Linked DNA regions of Homo sapiens: region 2 is linked to region 1. The links are contacts of gene promoters, found by promoter capture Hi-C in human tissues and cell types (Jung and others, 2019). All regions are on one chromosome and are shown on one strand. Each heading gives the region's core, a stretch centred on a gene start or on the middle of the fragment in contact. The rest is flanking DNA. Distances are from core to core; before and after follow the strand shown.

Region 1 (6,028 bases), core at 1,507-4,006:
GTGTGTGCCACCAGAACTGGCTAATTGTTTTTAAATTTTTTGTAGAGATGGTGTCTCACTATGTTGCCTGAGCTGGTCTTGAACTTGCTGGCCTCAAGCAATCCTCACACCTCGGCCTCCCAAAGTACTGGGATTAGAGGCGTGAGCCACTGCACCCAGCCAGCCTGATTTTTTTAATTCCAGTCCAGACCAATAAACAGTTTTTCTAAGTCTCTACCAGCTGTTATCTTCTGAGATTCTCAAAAAGGAGCAATGGACACCCCTAAGGTGACAACAATGTGGGGAATGAGCAGCCAAAGTAAAAAAGGTTTACTGGTTTATCATGTGTTCAGATATTTAAAGTCGTAGGCCTGCTCTGCAGATCCAGATGAAAGGTGGTGCCTTCTGTCACACAGTTTCACTGACTATGTCATTACATCAAGAACAACTTCTCATATAACATTCCAACAACAGCAAGTACATGTCATAAATGGCCAATATGATTAACAGTATAATTTGTAAAAGTGACCAGGTAAAAATACAGTTGGCTAACCATGTCATAAAACCAATTGAAAAAGTGAAAAGCAAAACAAAACTACCTTGAATCTTTCTACTAAATAGCCAGAGTTTTATATAAAGTTAAGAATAAATACTATAAGTAGCAATATACATTGTTAACGTGGGACACAGAGGGGTAAAAACTTCTTAAGGAGATTTGAAAATGATTGCACTTGACATAGAAAAGTTTTTCATAAAAGTTCAGCTTCAATAAATACATCTCTACTATATTATTCCATATCATGCATTTTTCTTAGACTTCAAATTTTAAGTGAGCGACTTTGAATGGATTATCTTTTTTTTATTTTTTGCATATTTCAATGTCAAAAGTTTCCATGCCTTTTCAAGAACATGAGGCATGTTGCTATGCTCAAGGTCTCTGAAATTTTCTAAAGATTCTGGGTATACAACAAAATATACCCTTGAAGCTACATTTTAAAAAAATTGAATCTGTTTTGTAGAAATGTGTGCAGCCAAGTTATCAGCTCCTCCAAATAAAAAGAGTTGTACAGACAGCCTCCAGAGGCAGTTTCACCCCATCAAAACTGTGATACCTTGAAGACTTTTTTTTGTAAACTCTATTAAATTGTCAAGAGCACTTTCAGTATCCCAAGTTAGCAGAGTTTTCACCCATTTTTTAAAGACTTTCCCATAGTTGGTTTTCTCCCACTTATAAATTTATTAACTCTAAATGCAAATATTTCACTTTATCCCATCATCTTTCCGACAGTCTTGGGCTGTTTTCCTAAAAGATAACTGGAATGTTTTAATCCTCAGATTTTGTCAATTAATCCTTTTCAATAATCAAATTTATATTTGAATATTGTATTTAGTGATTCTCTCAGGCCATCTGAAACACTGAAATCTGTACATGACAGCAATCATATCATTCAAATCATTCTCTTGCACATGTCACTAAGAGGAAAACGACCCACCATGAATATAGCTATTAATGTCAAACAGATTGTCATCTGGGAAAACAAAATGCATCAAAATCAGCTTCGGACAAAACACAGCTCTATGGGAAAACACCAGATTTTTATGTGCAAATGTCTTCAATGTCTGATAGAAATTTTTAAAGAATGAGTTAGCAAAGAATCTGCTCCTCCTCTGCATAATCCAGGACAATGTAATGAAAATAGTTTTCGAGGTAAAGGGCTTTTAGTCACAGCATATTATGATTTTACCAAAGATGCATTTGCCCCACTTTCTAGTAAACATTATAAAGAAACGTCTGGCTTCTAGATTGGGTAGAGGGCTCTATTTAGCCTATCAAGGCACAGACCTGTTATAAACTCTGGGGCGCTTGCCAGAATTTTTTTCCCCAGGAACTCTGAGTAAAGATCGTACCTCGAAAGCAATGTGCGTTGCAAACCACACAGATTTAAGCTCCCACTCTCGCCTCCATAGCTTGGCATCTGCGGCTTTTGGGGTATTCCCCGCCTCCTAAAACTCAGACTAAATCACCACCTCCCACCACCACCATGCCACCATCCTTGAGCAGCTCTCAGGGGCTTAGCACAGAGCGCGTCCGACGCATACCTGCAGCCCTCCAGGTCCCTGCAGGGTGAACCCAGCTCCCAGCCATGCGCGCACCCACAAACGCTCTCCTATTTTCTCCGCTGCAAACTGCCCACAAATTAGTCACCCACCTCACCCCTACTACTTATTCCCCCACGTCCCTGCTGCCTTTTCCCTCTTCCGGGCGGCTTCGTCCCCAACACACCTGTCTACCCCTACGGCTGCCAGACGTCAGGTGCCCACGCTGCACCCTATCCCGCGCCCCCTCAATCCGACTGGCGCTTCCCTGTCCGCCCCGAAGGTCAGTTTGCTCGGAGCACCCCCTGTCCCCCACCCCCGTGCTCACCCGCAGACCTCCTCCCAGCTCCCACCCTCGCGGGCGTCGGGAGAGAAACCAGCACCGTACCTGGCGAGAGCTCGGCGGCCGCTGCGAGCAGCAGGAGAGCCTGGCGGAGCGCTGAGCAGAGCGCCCGGGTCATCGCCACCAGGCGGCCGCGCCGGGGCTGCGAGGCCCCAGAGCAGAGCGAGGCAGCCGGGGCAGCACGGCCCGCTTTGAAGTTCCCGGGCCGCGGGAGGGGAGCGCGGCACCGACACCCTTTTGAAGTGCGCGGTTGGCTCTAGTCAGTGTGGGCGCCCCCCTCCCCGGCCGCCCCCATCCCACGCCCCCTGCGGCTGGCGGTGCGCGGCGCTCCTGCCACTGGCCCCGCAGCCGGGCGGGGAGCGGGTGGTGGGGCGGGCGGCAGAGCCCGCCCCTGCCGCGCCTCCGCCCCCTGCGCCCTCTCGCAGCCGCCCGGGCCTGCTGCTGCAGGGCAGGCAGGCAAAGGCGGCCCTGTGCCCGGCAGTGAGATCGCCCAGAGCTGGGGCGAAGAAAGAGGGGGCGTGGGGAAGCAGTGCGGAGCCTCCGGGACTAGATACTCAGGAATGGGGCTTCTCACGGGAGGAAAAGCCCCACTGAGACTTTAGGGAAACTTCAACTACGCGGCGATTGCGCCCAGGTGATCCGCTCTATAACCTCCCGCAGAAGAGCCAGCCTCCTAGCTCTCCTGACGTTTGTTGTCCAGGGTCCTTAAGTCCAACCAGGTTGCGCTGTGAGAGCCCCGCGGGCTTCCTACTGGCTTGTCCCACCCCTGCGTCCTGGCCATTTGTGCCTCTGGGGAAGGGCGCCCTCTCTGTTCATCCCTGGAAATGACCAGTTGTCCGACTGCCTTCTGGACCTATAAGCTTTGGTTTAACAAACTTCATCTCTTCTTGGGTGCCTTTTGGGAACCCTTCCCTCTATGAATGGCGACCAAAGCTGGACCACCTGCGCCAGGTGATGTGGCCATCTACAATGTGTGACCCACGTCTGGTGGTAAAAGACCTCACCTATGGAAGATAATTTCGGCAGCTACAACTTCAGCAATTGAAGAACTAAGGGAACATACACACACACACACACACACACACACACACACACACACACACACGGATTAAGGGAAGGGGAAGAATTGTTTAAAGTAGTATATGAAAAACTTGTTTGAGTATTGTTTAATCCCTAGAGGCTAACTGTCAAACGGGTGCCTGAAAATATAAGGCCTGGATTGTGCCTGAAAATATAAGGACAACGGCAACATTACCAATTTATAGAAATTAAATTCAATTCACCTATGGAGCCTGAACATTAAAGTGAATGGGATTATTTCAATCTGAACAACGCGAAAAAGCAAGAATACAATACTGGTGTTATTACTACTGTTGGGGGTTCCTTGAAAAGTGATAGCGTCATAAAAATTGCTTTAGAGTAAAACATTTCTTGCTTCTTCACCTAGCTCAGGACTAAATTATATGCTAGGTGTTCTAAGTTCTATGAAAGACCTATGGTGAAATGTTGTATGTAATTGACTTTATTATCAAAGGATCACAGTATGGGAGATGAGATGGTTGTTGGACTTTGAGATGTGGGTGGCATCCTGAGGATCTTTTCTGCCACCATCTTATATTCCTAAGCACAAAAAAACTTTGTTCTTGTTTTATCCTGGATCCAAACAAACAAAAAACTGGAGATGTGGGACAAATCTGAGCCCTTTCAGACACCCACAAAACAGATGCTTTTTTAAAAAGGCAAGAAACTGCTAGGACACATTATATTTTGTCTGGTTTGGCTTGCTAATTATTTGATAACTGCACCTTAAATTGTGATCTGCCAATAGATCATGATACCGGGAGCCTAAATAGCAGAATGTAATGAACTTTCTGGGTCTGCTTCCTCAAAAGTAAATGGAACTTAATTCCTCCCTATTTCCCAGAACTTTGACCAGGATCAAAAAGGGTAGTGTATGAGAGAGCATTGTTAAACCATACACATTACAACAATGGCAGGGATTTACTCCCCACATACTTATTTTGTCTCTAAAGCAACATCCTCTGCAAGTTGTAAAGCTCTCATTTGCAAAAAAAAAAAAAAAAAAAAAAAAAAGGCCGGTCGCGGTGGCTCACGCCTGTAATCCCAGCACCTTGGGAGGCCGAGACGGGCGGATCACGAGGTCAGGAGATCGAGACCATCCTGGCTAATATGGTGAAACACCGTCTCTACTAAAAATACAAAAAATTAGCCAGGTGTGGTGGCGGGTGCCTGTAGTCCCAGCTACTCGGGAGGCTGAGGCAGGAGAATGACGTGAACCCAGGAGGCAGAGCTTGCAGTGAGCCGAAATGGCGCCACTGCACTCCAGCCTGGGCGACAGAGCAAGACTCCGTCTCCAAAAAAAAAAAAAAAAAAAGCTTATTATTCCAAGAAGTCAAATATTGAATAACTCCAATATTCTACACAAACTCAATGCTTTCCTCTTAGTCTAATGGTGCGTTATCAACACGGTAGCCACTAGCCACATGTGAATATTGAGCCCCTGAAATGTGCCTAGACTGAATCGACATATGATGTAAATAAAAAATACATGCTAGATCCAAAGATTTAGTACAACAATAAGAATGTAAAAAATACATTACTAATAATTTTATCTTGCTTAAATGTTGCAATGATAGTATTTTGGACATAGAGTTGAATAAAATATATTATTAAATCAATATTACCTATTTCTGTTTACTTTTTAGTGTGACTACCAGAAAATTTTAAATTACACAGGTGGCCCACATTACAACTCTACTGGACAGTACTGGTCTAAAGAATCCTTAACAGATGGCAAGGATCCTTACCTTGTCTTAAGAACAGTATATATATAGAAAAAAAAAAGAGTAGTTAGGTATCTTGTCAGTCAGTATATGGCCAGCCAATAAAGGAATCAGGATCTTTTAAATTATTGGTTCAAAGTTCTGTAAAACATCAAGAAAGGTTAGTACATCAAAAATCTAAGTACTTTATTTGTAGGAATATTTTAAACTAGGTCTTTAAATACCATTTTCCCCACCCTCTTGTGCATGTTCCAATATCAGTACTATGAAAGCTTTGCAGTAAGATGTTAACTACTCTCAGTGTATTGAATCCTAATAGCTAGTAAAGTGTACTCTTAGGAAATTATAAATATTCGTTATATGCTTGAGTTCTTAATGCCACACTCATGGCAACCAAGAAAAGATCTTAGTCCTTATAATGTGTCCCAATTATACTTTATTTACACACACACACACACGTCCATGGAAATTAATCCGGTCTTAATCCAATGTCTTTTGAAATGAACCATTAATAAAAAATACTCTTTGGACCATATTTAGTTGTTCATGTCATTGAATATAAACAATAGAAATGCATTATTCAAGATGTGATATAACACGTCTTTCTTTCATATTTTTGCACATAACAGAAAAAGATTTACATGCAAGATTCTTTTATTTCACTGGAAAGAATTTACATGCAAATGTGTTTTTTCAAGATTTAACATCCCCCCCGCCACCTTAATCATCTATTTGTACATATTCATTGCCATAGCAACATTACATCATGACTCCTGTATTCTCATAAACCAAAAGAAAACAACAA
Region 2 (6,028 bases), core at 1,075-3,574, 350 kb after region 1:
GGGTTTTCTTTCATGAAGAGATGCTGAATTTTGTCAAATGGGTTTTCAGCATTGATGGAAATGATTGTATGGTTTTTGTCCTTCATACTGTTGATATAATGTATCACATTGATTATTTTGCATATGTTGGAACCATGATTGCATCCCTGGGATAAATCCCACTTGGTCATGATGAATCATCTTTTTAATGTATTGTTAAATATGTATTTAGTTGAAGATTTGTGCATCAGTATTCATCAGAGATATGGACCTGTAGTTTTCTTTTCTTGAGGTATCTTTGGTGTTGGTATTGGGGCAATAATAGCCTTGTAGAATGAGTTTGGAAGTAGTCACTTCTCCTTGATTTTTCAGATAGTTTGAGTAAGATTGGTATTAGTTCTTCCTTAAATGTTTGGTAGAATTCAGTGGTGAAGCCATCAGGTTCCGAGCTTTACTTTACTGAAAGACTTTTGATTATGGCTTCCATCTCATTGTTATTGATCTGTTCATGTTTTGGATTTCTTCATGGTTTAATCTTTGTAGGTTGTATGTGTCTAGAAATTTGCCCATTTCTTCTAGATTTTCCAATTTATTGGCTTATTGTTGTTCACAGTAGTGACTTATGATCCTTTGAATAGCTGCAGAATCAGTTGTTGTGTCTCCTTTTTCATCTCTGATTTTATTTATTTGTGTCTTTTTTTTTCTGAGCTAATCTGGCTAAAGGCTTGTCCATTTCGTTTAACTTAAAAAAAACCAGCTTTTTGTTTCGTTGATCTTTTGTATTGTTTTCTTCATTGTAATTTTATTTATTTCTGCTCTGATCTTTTTTATTTCTTCTGTTAATTTTGGATTTGGTTTGCTCTTGATTTTCTAGTTCTTTAAGATGCTTTGTTAGGTTGTTTATTTGATGTTTTTCTTTTTTTAATGTGGGCATTTATAGCTATAAACTTTCCTTTTTAGTGCTGCTTTTGCTGTATCCCATAGGTTTTGGTATGTTGTGTTTCCATTAGCATGTGTTGCAAGAAATTTTTAAATTTCCTTTGTAATTATTTCATTGACCTACTGGTCATTCAGAAGCATATTGTTTAATTTCCACGTTGATCTTGTTTGGCTGTGTCCCCACCCAAATCTCATCTTGAATTCCCACATGTTGTGGGAGGGACCCCATGGGAAGTAATTGAATCATGGGGGCAGGTCTTTCTTGTGCTGTTCTCATGATAGTGAATAAGTATCATGAGATCTGATGGTTTTATAAGGGGGAGTTTCCCTGCACAAGCTTTCTCTGTTTGCCTGCTGCCATCCGTGTAAGATGGGACTTGCTCCTCCTTGCCTTCCATGATGATTGTGAAGCCTCCCAATCCACGTGGAACTGTAAGTCCAATAAATCTCTTTCTTTTGTAAATTGGCCAGTCTTGGGTATGTCTTTATCAGCAGCATGAAAACGAACTAACACATTAAATTGGTACCAGTAGAGTAAGGTGCTGCTGAAATGATACCCAAAAATGGGGAAGCAACTTTGGAACTGGGTAACAGACAGAGGTTGGAAAAATTTGGAGGGCTCAGAAGAAAACAGGAAAATGTGGAAAAGTTTGGAACTCCCTAGAGACTTGTTGAATGGCTTTGTCCAAAATTCAGATAATGATATGAACAATGAAATCTAGGCTGAGGTGGTCTTAGATGGAGATGAGAAACTTGTTTGGAACTGGAGCAAAGGTGACTCTTGTTATGTTTTAGCAAAGAGACTGGTGGCATTTTGCCCCTGCCCTAGAGATTTGTGGATCTTTGAACTTGAGAGAGATGATTTAAGGTATCTGGCAGAAGAAATTTCTAAGCAGCAAAGCATTCAAGAGGTGACTTGGGTGCTGTCAAAGGCATTCAGTTTTAAATGGGAAACAGAGCATAAAAGTTCAGAAAATTTGCAGCCTGACAATGCAATAGAAAAGAAAAACTCATTTTCTAAGGAGAAATTCAAGATGCCTGCAGAAATTTGCGTAAGTAACAAGGATCCCAATGTTAATCCCCAAGACAATGGGGAAAATGTCTCCAGGGCATCTCAGAGACTTTTGCAGCAGCCCCTTCCATTACAGGCCTGGAGGCCTAGGAGGAAGAAATGGTTTTGTGGGCCAAGCCCAGGGTCCCATGCTGTGTGCGGTCTAGGGACTTGGTGCCCTGCATCCGAGCCACTCCAGCCATGGCTGAAATAGAGATTGGGCCGTGGTTTCAGAGGGTGCAAGCCTCAAGCCTTGGCAGCTTCCACATGGTATTGAGTCTATGAGTGCACAGAAGTCAAGAATTGGGTTTTGGGAACCTCCATCTAGGTTTCAGAGGAAACCTAGAAGAAGTTTGCTGAAGGGGTGAAGAAGTTTGCTGAAGGGGTGAGGCCCTCATGGAGAACCTCTGCTAGGGCAGTGCAGAAGGGAAATGTGGGCTCAGAGCTCCCACACAGAGTCCCTACCTGGGCACCACCTAGTGGAACTGTGAGAAAAGGGCCACCATCCTCCAGACTCCAGAATGGTAGATCCACTGACAGCTTGCACCATATACCTGGAAAACCCACAGACAATCAACACCAGCCCATGAAAGCAGCTGGGAGAGATGCTGTACCCTGCAAAGCCACAGGAGCAGAGCTGCCCAAGACCATGGAAACCCACCTCTTGCATCAGCATGACCTGGATGAGAGACATGGATTCAAAGGAGATCATTTTGAAACTTTAAGATTTGACTGCCCTGCTGGATTTCAGACTTGCATGGGGCCTGTAGCCCCTTAGTGTTGGCCAATTTCTTCCATTTGGAATAGGTGTATTTACCCAATGCCTGTACCCTACTGTATCTAGGAAGTAACTAGCTTGTTTTGATTTTACAGGCTCATAGGTGGAAGACCTTGCCTTGTCTCAGATGAGGCTTTAGACTATGGACTTTTGAGTTAATGCTGAAATGAGTTAAGACTTTGGGGGACTATAGGGAAGGCATGATTGGTTTTGAAATGTGAGGACATGAGATTTGGGAGGGGCTGGGGTGGAATGATATGGTTTGGCTGTGCTGCCACCCAAATCTTACCTTGAATTCCCATGTGTTGTGAGAGGGACCCCATGGGAGGTAATTGAATCATGGGGCAGTTATTTCCCATGCTGTTCTCATGATAGTGAATAAGTCTCATGAGATCCGATGGTTTTATAAGGGGGAGTTTCTGTACACAACTTCTCTCTTTTTGCCTGCTGCCATCCATGTAAGACATGACTTGCTCCTCCTTGCCCTCCACTATGATTGCAAGGCCTCCCTAGCCATGTGGAACTGTAAGTCCATTAAACCCTTTTCTTTGTTTTTTTTTTTGAGATGGAGTCTAGCTCTGTCACCAGGCTGGAGTGCAGTGGCATGATCTCAGCTCACTGCAACTTCCGCCTCCTGGGTTCAAGAGATTCTCCTTTCTCAGCCTCCCGAGTAGCTGGGATTACAGGCACGCGCTGCCACACCCAACTAATTTTTGTATTTTTAGTAGAGACAGAGTTTCACCATGTTGACCAGGATGGTCTTGATCTCCTGAACTTGTGAACCGCCCACCTTGGCCTCCCAAAGTGCTGGGATTACAGGCATGAGCCACTGTGCCTGGCCCATTAAATTTCTTTCTTTTGTAAATCGACCAGTCTTGGGTCTGTCTTTATCAGCAGCATGAAAATGGACTAATGCACATACAAATACTAAACAAGTATTTGTATAGTTTCCAAAATTCTTCTTCTTATTATTATTATTATTATTACTTTTGAGATGGAGTCTTGCTCTGTTGCCCAGGCTGGAGTGCAGTGGCGTGATCTCCGCTCACTGCAAGCTCCGCCTCCCGGGTTCTTGCCATTCTACTGCCTCAGCCTCCAGAGTAGCTGGGACTACAGGCGCCCGCCACGACGCCTGGCTAATTTTTTTTATTTTTAGTAGAGACGGGGTTTCACTGTGTTAGCCAGGATGGTCTTGATCTCCTGACCTCGTGATCCACCTGCGTTGGCCTCCCAAAGTGCTGGGATTACAGGCGTGAGCCACCGCGCCCCGCCCTTTTTATTGATTTCTAGTATGATTCTGTTGTGGTCAGAGAGGATGCTTGATATTATTTCAATTATTTTGAATATTTTAAGACTTGTTTTGTGACCTAACATATAGTGACCTAACACATAGTTTATCTCTGAGAATAATCCATGTACTGAGGAAAAGAATGTGTATTCTGCAGCCATTGGATGAAATGTTCTGTAAATGTCTACTAGATCCATTTGGTATATAGTACAATGTTTCTTTGGGCCATGGCCCAATGTTTCTTTGTTGATTTTCTCTCTGGAAGATCTGTTCAGTGCTGAAAGTGGGGTGGTGAAATCTCCAGTTACTATTGTATTGGATTCTCTCTCTCTCTCTAGCTCTGATAATATTTGCTTTATATTTCTGTGTGCTCCAGTGTTGGGTGCACATATGTTTCAAATTATTATATTCTCTTGCTGATTTCATGCCTTTATCATTATATCTTGACCTTCTTTGTCTCTTATAGTTTTTGTCTTGAAATCTATTTTGTCTGATATAAGTATAGCTACTTTTGCTCTTATTTGGTTTCCATTGGCGTGAAATATATTTTTTCCAGCCCTTTATTTGCATTCAATGTTTGTGTTTGTAGGTGAAGTGCATTTCTTGTAGGCAACAGATTAATGGGCCTAGTTTTATTTATTTATTTTTAATCCATTCATTTACTCTATTTCTTTTAATTGGAGAGTTTAATTCATTTACATTCAGTGTTATTATTGATAAGTAAGGACTTATTCCTGCCATTTTGTTATCTGTTTTCAGGTTGTTTTGTGGTCTTCTCTTCCTCCTTTCTTTCTTGTCTTCCTTTTAGTGAAGATTATTTTCTCTGGTGATATGATTTCATTTCTTGCTTTTTATTTTTTGTGTACTTACTGTATGTTTTTCAATTTGAGGTTACCATGAGGCTTGCAAATACTATCTTATAACCCATTATTTTAAACTGATAACAACTTGACACTGTTTGCATAAACAAACAAGCCAAAAGAAAACTAATACACTATGTCTTAACTTCGTCCCCCTGCTTTTTAACTTTTTATTGTTGCTATTTATATCTTACTGTACTATGTCTTAAAACGTTGTAGTTATTATTTTTGATTGGTTCACTGTTTATCTTTCTACTTAAGATAAAAGTAGTTTACACACCACAGTTACAGTGTTATAATAATCTGTGTTTTTCTGTGTACTGACTATCACCAGTGAGTTTTGTACTTTAGATGATTTCTTCTTGCTCATTAACATCCTTTTCTTTCTGAATGAAGTACTCCCTTTAGCATTTCTTGTAGGACAGGTCTGGTGTTGATGAAATCACTTGGCTTTTCTTTGTCTGGGAAAGTCTTTATTTCTCCTTCATGTTTGAAGGGCAATTTTGTGGGATATACTATTCTAGGGTAAGAATTTGTTCTCTTCAGCACTTTAAATATGTCATGCCACTCTCTTCTAGCCTGTAAGGTTTTACACTGAAAAGTCTCCTGTCAGATGTACTAGAGCTTCATTGTACGTTATTTGTTTCTTTTCTCTTGCTGCTTTTAGGATCCTTTCTTCATCTTTGACCTTTGGGAGTTTGATTATTAAATGCCTTGAGGTAGTCTTCTTTGGATTAAATCTGCTTGGTGTTCTATAACTTTCTTATACTTGGATATTGATATCTTTCTAGGTTTGGAAAGTTCTGTTATTATCCCTTTGACTAAATTTTCTATCCCTATCTCTTTCTTTACCTCCTCTTTCAGACCAATAACTCTCAGCTTTTCCCTTTTGAAGCTATTTTCTAGATTCCGTAGGTATGCTTCATTGTTTTTTATTCTTTTTTCTTTTGTCTCTTCTGACTATGTATTTTCAAATAGCCTACCTTCAGCCTCACTAATTCTTTATTCTGCTTGATCAATTCTGTATTAAAAGACTCTGATGCATTCTTCAGTATGTCAATTGCATTTTTCATTCCATTATTTCTATTTATTCTTTTTAATTATTTCAATCTCTTTGTTAGATTTATCTGATA

The links. The method cuts DNA at HindIII sites, captures the fragments that hold promoters and counts their contacts. A contact is called where the count stands out against the background at its distance.
Region 2: a contact is called between a fragment that was not itself captured here and the fragment with the promoter of ACVR1C in region 1, in 2 of the 25 tissues and cell types used here (hippocampus and spleen).

Annotation. Positions count from the first base shown.
Region 1 is chr2:157,626,108-157,632,135 of GRCh38, forward strand. ACVR1C (activin A receptor type 1C) reads right to left here and starts at 2,757. Exons shown (of 9, transcript NM_145259.3): 1 at 2,465-2,757. The coding sequence starts at 2,537. RefSeq lists a silencer at 2,472-2,701. The HindIII fragment of the contact is 14,203 bases long and covers 1-4,047 here.
Region 2 is chr2:157,978,116-157,984,143 of GRCh38, forward strand. No RefSeq gene overlaps it. Among named protein-coding and RNA genes, the nearest start is that of ACVR1, 100 kb to the left of the region's middle. The HindIII fragment of the contact is 5,954 bases long and covers 1-5,301 here.